Regions from separate parts of the Homo sapiens genome. Here region 2 is linked to region 1. Evidence: promoter capture Hi-C in 16 types of primary human blood cells and fetal thymus (Javierre and others, 2016). All regions are on one chromosome and are shown on one strand. The core of a region is centred on a gene start or on the middle of the fragment in contact, and the rest is flanking DNA. Distances in the headings are between cores, read along the strand shown.

Region 1 (6,659 bases), core at 1,520-4,019:
TTGAACCCATTGTGAATATACAGTAGATAAAAAAAATAATAAAAATAAAATGAAATTAAAAATTGTGGCTGGGCAGGGCGGCTCACACCTGTAATCCTAGTACTTTGGGAGGCCGACACGGGTGGGTCACCTGAGGTCAGGAGTTTGAAACCAGCCTGGCCAACATGGTGCTCAAAAAAAAAAAAAAAAAAAAAAAAAAATTGAACCCAGCAGTCTGACCCCAGAGGAGCCTGGTCTCTGGTCTCTTAACCCCTGCATTGTAATAGTCGCATCGAGCGCTACCCAGTGTCTGCAGCATCCTTTCCTCAGAAACACTTCTCAAAAAGAGGAAAAGCCTCTTGGGTATCAAAACTCAGAACTGCATCATAGCTCCCAGAGCCTGGCTATACGCAAAGTGGTCTTTTTGGTCTTTTTTTTTTTTTTTGAGATGGAGTCTTGCTCTGTCACCCAGGCTAGAGTGCAGTGGGACAATCTTGGCTCACTGCAACCTCTGCCTCCCGGGTTCAAGTGAATCTCCTGCCTCAGCCTCCTGAGTAGCTGAGATTACAGGCACCTGCCACCGTGCACAGCTATTTTTTGTATTTTTAGCAGAGACAGGGTTTTACCATTTTGGCCAGGCTGGTCTCGAATTCTTGACCTGGTGATCCACCCGCCTCAGCCTCCCAAAGTGCTGGGATTACAGGCGCGAGCCACCAGCCTATGCAAATGTTTTAAAATGGATGGATGCTGGACTCAATGGATCTCAATTCCCTTTTTTCTTTGCCTGGGGGGAAGCTCAGAACCTGATTCATGACCCATCTCTACAATTACCCAGAACTTGAAGGCAAATATATATATATATATAATTTGTTTATTTTTTGAGAGAGAAGCTCTTGTTGTCTAGGCTGGAGTGCAGTAGCTATTCATAGGCACAGTCTCACTACTGATCAGCACCTGAAGTTTGACCTGCTCTGTTTCTGACCTGGGCTGGTTCAGCCTTTCTGAGGCAACCTAGTGGTCCTCTGCTCCTTGGGGTTCACCATATTAGTGCTGAATTTAGTGTGGACACCCCATCAGCATAGTGCCCTACAGCACAGAAATCCTGGCCTCAAGCCATCCTACTGCTGCAGCCTCCCAAGTAGCTGGGACTACAGGTGCACAGCAGTGCCCCCAGCTCAAGACAAGTATTTTATGGCCTCAATTCAGGCGTAGATTACCCTTATTTTTCTCACTTGACTTCCCTTCATCTGGGTTTCTTCTTTTTATGCTGGTGGCGTATAAATTTTGTTACTATGTTTTACATTTGGAGAGTTGGGAAGCAAACTATTAAAATGCCTGACTATAGCAACTGCCTGATATACAGTCAACACAACCCTTAACAACGGGGACACCTTCTGGGAAATGTGTCATCAGGCAATTTCGTCATTGTGTGAACATCACACAGTGACTTACACAAACCTAGGCGGTACCACCTACTACACACCCAGTCTCTATACCACCGCCTGTGCTCCTGGGCTGCTAACCTATGCAGCCTGGGACTGTACCGCACGCTGCAGGCAACTGTAACACAGGGGTAAGTATTTGTGCATGTAAACACAGAAAGGGTGCCATGAAAGATGATATTATACTCTTATGGGACCGCTATTATATGTGTGGTTCGTTGTTGACCAAAACACAGATATATGGTGCATGACTATATATCTATTGTGAATTAGACATGTCCTCTGCCCACAAGAAGAGGGCCACCCAATGGTGACGACTCAGTGGTGTGCCTTAAGAAAGTTGTGCCCAGGGTCCCCTTTCTGTGTCAACTGTGATGGCTGGGCCAAAGTGAGGATAAGAAGGACTTGTGGCTGAGCCCCTTCGGGAGGCCACCACATCGGGCAGCGCTTAAAGCCAGCCTGGGGGCCGAGCTCCGTGGCTCATCCCTGTAATCCCAGCATTTTGGAAGGCCGAGGCAGGCGGATCGCCTGAGGTTAGGAGTTCGAGACCAGCCTGGCCAACATGGTGAAACCCTGTTTCTACTAAAAATACAAAAAAAATTAGCCGGGTGTGGAGGCCCACGCCTGTAATCCCAGTTACTCGAGAGGCTGAGGTAGGAGAATTGCTTGAACCCAGGAAGCAGAGATTGCAGTGAGCCAAGATTGTGCCACTTCACTCCAGCCTGGGTGACAGAGCAAGACTCTGACTCAAAAATAAATAAATAATTAAAAAAAAAAGGCAACTTGGGAGTGGATGAAGCCCCTGGGGACGGGCAGATGCCTTTTGAGGGTCTCAATGCGGGGTGAGATCAGTGTCAACAGGCTCGAAAGTGGGTTGTCCAGGCTCAGCTAGCCCCCAGTCCTCCACGAGAACCTCACAGGGGCTGGTCTGGCCACACAGTGTTTGATTGTTACACTGTTTTACCACTTCCCTCTCCTGACTCAATCCCCCACTTGTCCACAGATCCCCTGTCACTGAAGACTCGTAGCAGGGAGGGGACGGGGGCTCTGGCATCACCTTCTGACTGTCACCGTCCCCGCCTCCAGCCTGCCCCAGTGTTGGGCCTTGTTCCCAGGTCCTCTGGGCTCAGGGTCGGCCAGGCCCCTTCTCCTGTGGTGTGGGCCTCCAGCCCCAGGAGCGCCAGGAGCTCTGGCGCCTTGGTCCCTTCCTCCTGTCCGGCGCCCCCAGCTGTACTCTGCCTCATTAGGAGTCGACCCCTCCTGGGAGGTGTGGTCTCTGGCAGGGTTAATGATTGCTCAGTGGAGGTGGAGATGGTGCCAAAGTCTGCTGGCCACATAGCTGCAGGCCGCAGAGGGTGCCCACCTGTGTGCCAGCGCCTGTCCGGCGCCTGCCTGCCGCCTCCGTGGCGAAGGGGACACAGGTAGGGACTATCCAGCTCATCGGGGGTCTCTGGGCCAGAGAAATGTGGGGGTTGGGGGGATCCCTAGAGCCAAGGCAAGCTTGGGGGTCTTTAAAAGTCTCCCCTGAAGCTGGGCAGGGGAAGTCACACGCTAGATGGGGCAGAGCCGGGTCAGGTCCCAGCCTGCTGTGAGGCCTGTTTCTTTGGTAAACATGGGATAATAATACCTCCTTCCCTGGGGGCTGATGGCCCCCTTCCCATCCAAGTCCTCAAGGGATGATTCTTCAGAGGATGGAAGGGAGGCAGGCACCCCAGGGAAACGAGGTAACTGGCCTGACCCCTTCATAGGATGCTCAGGGGTTGAGGACGGGGAAGCTGACCTGGGCTCTTACCCCAGCTGCTCGGTTCACATCCCAGCTCCACCCTGACCTTGGTGGGCTACTTAACTCTTCTGGGCCTCCGTTTCCTCATTTATCAAATGGGGATGAGAAGAGTTCCAGAAAGGGCCTGAAAAGCCCTGAGGCAAAGGTGAGCATGTGGCCTATGACCGAGCCCAGTGCCACCTCAGCCAGTGCTAGGAAGTGTCAGGCAGGGACTGACCCAGGCTGGCCCCAGCTCTGCCCAGTCCGGGCCTTGCACATCTCTCTGCCCTGGTAGAGGAGGTGGTGACCCAGCTGAGAGTCGGGGCCATGCTGCGTCACTCAGGCAGGCCTGTGCTGGGTTGGGCACCAGGCACAAGGCAGGGTCCCAGTGAGCACCGAGGTCCGGCAGATGGAAACAAGTCATGGCCCGTGTGTAGACCCCTTGATTTTTATCCTCACTCTGCTTCTCAGCAGGGGAAACTGAGGCCTGGAGAGGGGAGAGGGCTTGCCTGGGGTTGCACAACAAATATGTGAAATGCTGCCATCTGAACCCAGGGCTGTTTGAGTCTGTATGTGTCTGCTGGGCCAGGTGGCCTGGGCCATAGGCACTGGGAGGGCCCGTGGCGGGGAGCTGCGTGCTCAGGTCCCACATCCTTGCTCCGGGCACCCAGGCTCGGCTGGAGTCCGCTCTGTGGGTGCAGGCACGGCCTCCTGGATCAACGGAGCCCAGACCAAGGCTTGCCCAGGGACCCCTGGATTTGGAGGCAGCCTGGGTCTAACCTGCTGCCCCTGGCTCACCCATCTCTGGGCATCTATGAGCCTCGGTTTCCTTGGAATAATAGGATAGGATAATTCCTGCTTGGGAACAGCTGTGAGAAGTAAATGAAAAAGCAGAAGTGAAAGTGCATGGCGAGCTGGCCGTGTAGCGGTGGCGGTGCTGGGGGAGCTCTGTAGCATCGTGGCTGAGTGCACCCCGGGGGCTCCCCACACTGAAGGAGGACCCACCTCCCCACCCTGACCCTCCTGGAGGTCCTGGGCAGTCCGGGTATCCTCACTCCCAGTGGTTCCAAATTCTAGAAAATCTTGGCACCGTGGACTGCTCTGAGATGCGGCTGAAGCCTCCTCTCAGCCAAGGCTGAAGAGCTGGCACCTCCTGGGCCAGGTGGGACCAGTGAGGATTCCTGGAGACTACACATCTCATGGCGTGGGGGCCAGAGTCTCCCTGATTCTTCTCTGTGTCCTTTTTGGTCCTTCCCTAAGCACTTTCTTTTTGAGACGGATTCTCACTCTGTTGCCCAGGCTGGAGTGCAAGGCGCTATCTCGGCTCACTGCAACCTGTGCCTCCCTGGTTCAAACGATTCTCCTGCCTCAGCCTCCTGACTAGCTAGGATTACAGGTGCACGCCACCACGTCTGGCTAATTTTTTTTTGTGAGATGGAGTCTTGCTTGTCGCCCAGGCTCCAGTGCAGTGGTGCGATCTCAGTTCACCACAACCTCTGCCTCCTTGGTTCAAGTGATTCTCCTGCCTCAGCCTCCCGAATAGCTGGGATTACAGGTGTGCGCCACCATGCCTGGCTAATTTTTGTATTTTTAGTAGAGACAGGGTTTCACCATGTTGGTCAGGCTGGTCCAGGCATTTTTTGAGAGCAGGGAAACAACAGTAGTGGCCGGAGGGCTTGAGAACAAGGAAGCAGTAATTTCTGGAATATAGATAGTCCCCATTTTAAATTACTTTATTTTATTTTTATTTTTTGAGACAAGGTCTTGCTCTGTCGCCCAGGCTGGCGTGCAGTGGCGCGATCTCGGCTCACTGCAGCCTCAACCTTCTGGGCTCAAGTGATCCTCCCACTCTAGCCTCCCAAAGTGCTGGACTGTGTTTGCTCCTTTAAAAAATGAGAACTATTGGTATTGGCCTGGACTGCCACCACACCTAGCCAAGAGTTCTCTTTTTTTTTTTTTTTTTTGAGACAGAGTCTCGCTCTGTCACCCAAGCTGGAGTGCAGTAGCGGCATCTCGGCTCACTGCAAGCTCCGCTTCCCGGGTTCACGCCATTCTCCTGCCTCAGCCTTCCAAGTAGCTGGGACTACAGGCGCCCGCCACCACGCCTGGCTAATATTTTTTTTTTTTTTGGGGAACTTTTAGTAGAGACGGCGTTTCACCATGTTAGCCAGGATGGTCTCGATCTCCTGACCCCGACCCCGTAATCGGCCCGCCAAAGTGCTGGGATTACAGGCGTGAGTCACCGCGCCCGGTTAATAGTTCCCATTTTTAAAAGGAGCAAACAGAGAAAAGAGCCCAGGGGTACGGTTGTGCAGTGACTGGGACCTTGTTTCACACCCATGCGTTGGCCTGAGGCTGCCCCAGCAGGGAAAAGCGGGTGCCTGTCCGCAAGTCCCAGCCCAGGGGCAACTCCATTCACTCGGTTTCCATTTGTGCCTTGCTCCTGCCCCTTGCTGGGGTACCAGGAAATGAGGAGCCCAGAGTGGGGGCCACCAACTGCCTGAACACAGCTCCACAGCTGATCTGGGCCTTACAGAATGGAGAGGATTTGCATGTAGGCAGAAGGCAAAGAAAGACATTCTGGGCAGAGGGAATGGTTTAGGCAAATGGAGGAAGGACAATGCAGGGTGTGGACCGAGAACAGGAGCATTCAACACCACTGGACCTCAGGAGTGGGAGAGAGCAGCTCGTGTGGAAAAAGCAAGACCCAGGACCTCCAAGGACCTCGCCTGTCAGGCTGAGGGGCAGGCAGTGTGTCCTGCAGCCAGTGGGAGCCATGGAGGAGATTTGAGCTTGGGAGTGACCTATCATGGGGAAGGCTTAGCATTGGGGCAGGCCGTTATTGCGCCTTCGCCAGCCCACACAGACACTGTGCTTTTTCCCCAAGTGACTGAATCCAGAGGCAGATGCTCTGGACTGTAGAACGCCAGCCTCATCATGATCATGAGGAGGCAGGACTGCGAGAAACCCGGGGCCAACCCCAGCAGAGCAGGAGGCAGGCGAGGCAGGGATGAGGCAAGAAAGAGCACTGGCCTGGGAGGCAGACAGGGTGGCACCCCCACTCTGCCGCTGACAGCCTTGGAGCTGCTGGGCAGGAACCCTGGCCTCCTGCACTCATGTCTGTGTGCATAAAGGGGATTGATGAATCCAGCTCTTCCTTCCAGGGGGATGGCTGGGCCCACATGCAGGGGAGAGACTGTGCGTGCATCACACAAATGCAAAGGGGCATCGCTGTTGCTCTGAGTGAGGGTCCCCAGGCTTCTTGAGGCCCTCCATCCTGCCCTGTGAGATGGGGAGGGGGGAGTTGGGAGACACTTCCATGAGGGAGAAGCGTGGCGTGTATGGGGAAGGGGCTGTAGGGGGAGGCGCCTCGGGGACTGGGTGAAGGTCCTGGTTCGGGCTGTTCTCTCTCAACATCACATGTTTGTGGGCTCAGCATGACCTGTGGGAAAATCGGGCAGCTCAAGAAGGAAAAC
Region 2 (6,659 bases), core at 1,628-4,127, 130 kb before region 1:
GGTATGGTGCCCGTAGTCCCAGTTACTCAGGAGGCCGAGGTGAGGGAATCACCTGAGCCCGGGAAGTCAAGGTTGCAGTGAGCTATGATTGTGTCAGAGGTGTGTGAATCAGAGCAAGTCCGTCGTAAACAGGATCTGGGTAAAATGAGGCTGAAACCTACTGGGCTGCATTCCCAGACGGTTAGGGCATTCTAAATCACAGGATGAGATAGGAGGTCAGCACAAAATACAAGTCATAAAGACCTTGCTGATAACACAGTTTGCAGTGTTGGGCAAGGTGGCCCACGCCTGTAATCCCAGCACTTTGGGAGGCCAAGGTGGGCGGATTGTGAGGTCAGGAGTTTGCGACCAGCCTGGTCAATATAGTGAAACCCCGTCTCTACTAAAAATACAAAAAATTAGCTGGGCATGGTGGCAGGTGCCTGTAATCCCAGCTACTTGGGAGGCTGAGGCAGGAGAATTGCTTGAACCCGGGAGGCGGAGGTTACAGTGAGCCGAGATCTCACCACTGCACTCCAGCCTGGGTGACAGTGCAAGACTCAGTCTCAAAAAACAAACAAACCAACAAACAACAACAACAAAAACCAGGTTGCAGTAAAGGAGCCAGCCAAAACCCACCAAAACCAAAATGGTGACAAGAGTGACCTCTGGTCATCCTCACTCCCACCAGTGCCAGGACAGTTTACAAATGCCATGGCAACATCAGGAAGTTACCCTATACGGTCTAAAAAGGGAAGGCACGAATAATCCACCCCTTGTTTAGCATTTCATCAAGAAATGGCCATGAAAATATGCAACCAGCAGTCCTTGGGGCTGCTCTGTCTATGGAGTAGCCATTCTTCTATTCCTTTACTTTCTTTTTCTTTTTTTGAGGTGGAGTCTCGCTCTGTTGCCCAGGCTGGAGTGCAGTGGTGCGATCTCGGCTCACTGCAAGCTCCACCTCCCGGGTTCACGCCATTCTCCTGCCTCAGCCTCCCAAGTAGCTGGGACTACAGGAGCCTGCCACCATGCTCAGCTAATTTTTTTTTTTTTTGTATTTTTAGTAGAGACGGGGTTTCACCCTGTTAGCCAGGATGGTCTCGATCTCTTGACTTCATGATCTGTCCACCTCGGCCTGCCAAAGTGCTGGGATTACAGGCGTGAGCCACCGTGCCCGGCCCCTCCTTTACTTTCTTAATAAACTTGTTTTCGCTTTGCACCAAGGACTCACCCTGAATTCTTTCTTGCGTGAGATCCAAGAACCCTCTCTTGGGGTCTGGATTGGGACCCCTGTCCTATAACAATCACACCACTGCGCTCCAGCCTGGGCAATGAGAGTGAGACCCTGTCTCTAAATAAATAAATAGCATCTGCAAACAGAGATACTTCTTACTTTCCAATCTGGGTTGCTTTTATTTCTTTTTCTTGCCTAATTTCTCTGGCTAGGACTTCCAGTACTATGTTGAATAGAAATACCAAAAGTGGGCATCCTTCTGCACAAGTTGTCCAAATCAAACTGGAGTCACTTATGCCAAACCCTAGCAAAATGGACTCAGGAGGCCATAAATGAGGGGCTCCCATGCACACATGCCTATGATAGAAAATATTACAAGGACTGTCTGAGGCTGGGCACGGTGGCTCATGCCTGTAATCCCAACACTTTGGGATGCTGAGATGGGCGGATCACCTGAGGTCTGGAGTTCAAGACCAACCTAACATGATGAAACCCCGTCTCTACTAAAAATACAAAATTAGCTGGGTGTGGTGGCACACACCTGTAATCCCAGCTACTCAGGAGGCTAAGGCAGAAGAATTGCTTGAACCTGGGAGGCAGAGGTTGCAGTGAGCCGAGATTGCCCCATTGTACTCCAGCCTGGGCAACAAGAGCAAAACTCCGTCTCAAGAAAAAAAAAAAAACCCAACAACAACAACAACAAAAAACAAGGATTGTCTGAAACCACAATCTTGCACAAAGGCCGTCACACCCATGCACGAAGAATATTTCTGCAATGACACCTGCCCAGCAATTGCCTGTTCAATCTTGGAATAATGCTACCCTTGTTATCAATCCTTGTAGCCAAGGATAATTTTTTCAAAACAACTTACGTAGCCTTCCTCATTTTGCCTTTAAAACCCCTTTCCTTCCTTTTTCTCTCTGAGTGCCCCCCTCCATGGTTCACCATAGTACATGTATTCCCTGGGATGCAACTGTAAACAAGAAAGTATCACAGACAGGTCTCAATCAATTTAGAGGTTTATTTTGCCAAGGTTGCAGGCACACCCAAGAAGAAGAGACACAAGACACAGTATGATCTGTGGCATGCACTTTTTTCCAAAGAAGATTTTGAGGACTTCATTATTTAAAGGGGAAAAAGTGGGCAGGAGGAGAAAGAAGAAAGGGGAAAAAAAGGAAGGTAGACAAGTGAGATAAGCCATTGCATTCTTTTGAGGCTTTGATTAGAGCTCACTGAATCCATACGTTCCATGTGAAAAGGACAGGGTAGAGGAATAGTCAATTACATATTCATCTTGCACTCAGTAAATCTGTACATAAGATAAACAGAGAGTAGAGGAAGAGTTCAAATATGCATTTGTCTGACAGGGGCGTGGGGGGGATGATTTCTAGTCTCCTTTTGTCCCGCACCTGTGAAGATAAGCTGTTAATTTACATTGTCAGGGTGAGGGAGGCCACCTGGGGAGACATGTGGCCTTCTATCTTATACCTATCTGTTTAGGAACAAAAGGAAAGGCAGTTTTTTTGTGTGGCTTAGTTTCCAAGCTTAACTTTTCCTTTTGAGTAGTGAGTTTGAGGTCCTGAGATTTTATTTTCCTTTCACACAATCTGATATGGTTTGGCTGTGTCCCCTCCCAAATCTTATCTTGAATTCCCATATGTTGTAGGAGGGACCCGGTGGGAGGTAAATGAATCATGGAGGCAAGTCTTTCCTGTGCAGTTCTTGTGACAGTGAATAAGTCTTACAAGATCTGATGGTTTTATAAAGAGGAGTTCCCCTGCACAAGCTTTTCTCTCATTTTGCCTGCTGCCATCCATGTAAGACATTAGTTGCTCCTCCTTGCCTTCCACTATGATTGTGTACTTCCCCAGCCACTTGGAACTGTAAGTCCATTAAACCTCTTTCTTTTGTAAATTGCCCAGTCTCAGGAATGTCTTTGTCAGTAGCATGAAAATGGACTAATATACAATTTGTCATTCATTCCCAAGTAATCTCACTTTTTCTTAGAGCCACTCTCCCTGTCGTTATTTTAGGTTGACTCTCTACTTGCTCCTGATCCTAGTGGATGAGCTTTCAGTCTTCCACCATGGAGTATGATGTTTGCTGTGGATTTCTTTTCTTTTCTTTTTTATAGAGCTGGGTCTCACTATGTTGCTCAAGCTGGTCTCAAACTACTGGGCTTAAGTGATCCTCCTGCCTCTGCCTCCCAAAAAGTGTTGGCATTATAGGTGTGAGCCACCATACCTGGCCAGATTTTTCATATATGGCTTTTGTTACATTATATAACTACCTTCTGTTCCTACTTTATTGACTGTTTTTATCATGAAAGGGTGTTGAATTTTGCCAAATGTTTTTTCTGCTCTATTGAGATGATCGCATGGTTTTTTTTTTTTTTTTGAGACGGGGTCTCGCTCTGTCACCCAGGCTGGAGTGCAGTAGCACGATCTCGGCTCACTGCAAGCTCCGCCTCCTGGGTTCACGCCATTCTCCTGCCTCAGCCTCCTGAGTAGCTGGGACTACAGGCGCCCGCCACCACGCCTGGCTAATTTTTTTGTATTTTTAGTAGAGACGGGGTTTCACTGTGTTAGCCAGGATGGTCTCGATCTCCTGACCTCGTGATCCGCCCACCTCGGCCTCCAAAAGTGCTGGAATTACAGGCGTGAGCCACCGTGCCCAGCCGTGTTTTTTAAATTAATTCAGTTAATGCAGTACATTACATTGATTGATTCTTGTATGGTGAACCACCCTTGCATTCTGGGTGTAAACCCCATTGGTCAAGGTACACAATCCTTTTATTGTGCTGTTGAATTCGGTTACTGAGTATTTTGCTGAGGATTTTTGCATCAATGTTCACAAGAGATAATGATCCATAGTTTTCTTTTCTACTAGTGTCTTCTTTTTTTCATGCTATTACTGGGACTTGTAGTGTCTTTATCTGGCTTTGGTATCAGCATAATGCTGGCATCATAGAAAGAGTTAGGAAGTGTTCTCTTCAATTTCTGTGAGAAGTTTGAGAAGAGTTGGTTCTTCTTTAAATGTTTAATGGAATTCACCAGTGAAGCCATTAGATCCTGGGCTTTTCTTTGTCAGGAGATTTTTGATTACCGATCCAATCTCACTAGTTATAGGTTTACTCAGATTTTCTATTTCTTTATGGTTTAGTCTTGATAGGTTTTTGTGTTTCTAGCAATTGTAATGGTGTGATCTCGGCTCACCGCAACCTCCACCTCCCAGGTTCAAGCGATTCTCCCTCCTGCCTCAGCCTTCTGAGTAGCTGGGATTACAGGTGTGTGCCACCACACCTGGCTAATTTTGTATTTTTAGTAGGGACAGGGTTGCTCCATGTTGGTCAGGCTGGTCTCACACTCCCAACCTCAGGTGATCCTCCTGCCTCAGCCTCCTAAAGTGTTGGGATTATAGGCGTGAGCCACCGCGCCCGGCCACAGTAGTCTTTTATAATCCTTATTATTCCGATGGAATCAGTAGCAATGTCCCCATTCTTGTATCTACTTTTAGTGATTTGAATCTTCTTTTTTCTTAGTTAGTTCATCTAGCTAAAGGTTTGTCAATTTTGTTGATCTTTTCAAAGAACCAACTTTCTTTTTTTTAATTTTTTATTATTATTCTTATTTATAGAGATGGAGTTTCACCATGTTGGCCAAGCTAATCTTGAACTCCTGACCTCAAGTGATCTGCCCACCTCAGCCTCCCAAAGTGCTAGGATTACAGGTGTGAGCCACCATGCCCAGATGAAGAACCAACTTTCTATCCTCATAAATTATTTTTGCCCAGACTAGTGGAGTTTTATTCTATGGATGCACAGATTATTATTTGGCTGATGATTTAAAGCTAATTCCTATGCACATTTCTGGAATTCTTGCCCTGCCTAGCTCCCTCTTCTCAGTACTTTACCCTGCAAATCCTAGCCACTTCAACTTCCCCAAACTCCTATCTCTGTCTCTTGCCTCTGTGAGACTGCTGGACTCTGTTTGGGTTCCCCTTACCTTCCTAGCAGCTTAGAAATTCCTTCAGGCGGGCTGGGTACAGTGGCTCACGCCTGTAATCGCAGCACTTTGGGAGGCCGAGGTGGGCGGATCACTTGAGGTCGGGAGTTCGAGACCAGCCTGACCAACATGGAGAAACCCCGTCTCTACTAAAAATACAAAATTAGCCAGGTGTGGTGGCGCATGCCTGTAATCCCAGCTAGTCGGGAGGCTGAGGCAGGAGAATCGCTTGAACCCAGGAGGCAGAGGTTGTAGTGAGCTGAGATCACACCATTGCACTCCAGCCTGGGCAACAAGAGCGAAACTCCATCTCAAAAAAAAAAAAAAGAAAAGAAAAAAGAAATTCCTTCAGGCAGAAAGCGTGGTGTTCTGCTGTGAGCAGATCTAAGCTAACCTACCTCCAAAGGCCAAGGGAGCTGAGAGGCCGAAGAAAGAGGTTGACAAATCCAGTTTATCAGAAAGAAACATTTAATAGAGACTTACAAACAAAAGCCTTGTCTTAGACAGCCACACGGCAGTGGATCTCTGCAACTGCCATCCAGAAATTATCCTTTTTATAGCAAGATTTTAGCCTCAGACCTCTTGTGAAACTCCTGACCACTGGGGAAGTTAAATAAGCTCTTTTTTTTTTTTTTTTTAAGAGACAGGGTCTCACTGTGTTGCCCAGGCTGATCGCAAATTCCTGGGCTCAAGCGATCCTCCCACCTCAGTCTCCCAAAGTGCTGGGATTAAGCCACTGCAAGCCAGCCTAGATAAACATCCTTATGAGAGGTTGTCTCTGGTACAGGCACTGTTTCTTTGCAAGGGGTTATCTCCATTACAGGCATTGTTTCCTGACTTTGCTGCAGGACTGCCTCAGTATATGCACTAGTCAAACATGGGTCATTATGGTGGTTTCCCTTTAAGATAGTGTTACTCTTGCCAGGCAACAGGCTGTTTTCCTACACCTGGAAAATCACAGGGTTCACCCTGTTTGTTTCTCTTCTCTCAGGGATCACAGCCCTGTGCTGCCCATTGCCAATGTCTAAAAACAGGGCCAGGCACGGTGACTCACACCTGTAATCCCAGCACTTTGGGAGGCCGAGGCGGGTGGATCACCTGAGGTCAGGAGTTCAAGACCAGCCTGGCCAACGTGGTGAAACCCTGTCTCTAATAAAAATACTAAATATTAGCTGAGCATGGTGGCAGGAACCTGTAATCCCAGCTCCTTGGGAGGCTGAGGCAGGACAATTGCTTGAACCCGGGAGACAGAGATTGCAGTGAGCCGAGATCGCACTGCCGTACTCCAGTCTGGGTGACAGAGTGAGACTCTGTCTCAAAAAAAAAGGAGGAAAAAAATTAAAAACATTATTTTGAAGACTTGTAGCCAAGAAAAATTAGAATTCGGTCCAAACTGTAAAAAATAATAAAAATTGAAAAACATTAGGCAAGATTAGAATCT

What was found. Contacts are between HindIII fragments. The CHiCAGO score rates a contact against its expected background, and 5 or more counts as called.
Region 2: a contact is called between a fragment that was not itself captured here and the fragment with the promoter of CDHR2 in region 1, in 8 of 17 cell types (naive CD4 T cells, total CD8 T cells, non-activated CD4 T cells and 5 more). The highest score is 7.4, in naive CD4 T cells.

What each region holds. Positions count from the first base shown.
Region 1 is chr5:176,546,573-176,553,231 of GRCh38, forward strand. CDHR2 (cadherin related family member 2) reads left to right here and starts at 2,770. Exons shown (of 32, transcript NM_017675.6): 1 at 2,770-2,842. It also overlaps the pseudogene RN7SL684P. RefSeq lists enhancers at 3,042-3,975, 5,624-6,257. The HindIII fragment of the contact is 9,099 bases long and covers 1-2,919 here.
Region 2 is chr5:176,418,302-176,424,960 of GRCh38, forward strand. No RefSeq gene overlaps it. Among named protein-coding and RNA genes, the nearest start is that of CLTB, 5.1 kb to the left of the region's middle. The HindIII fragment of the contact is 242 bases long and covers 2,757-2,998 here.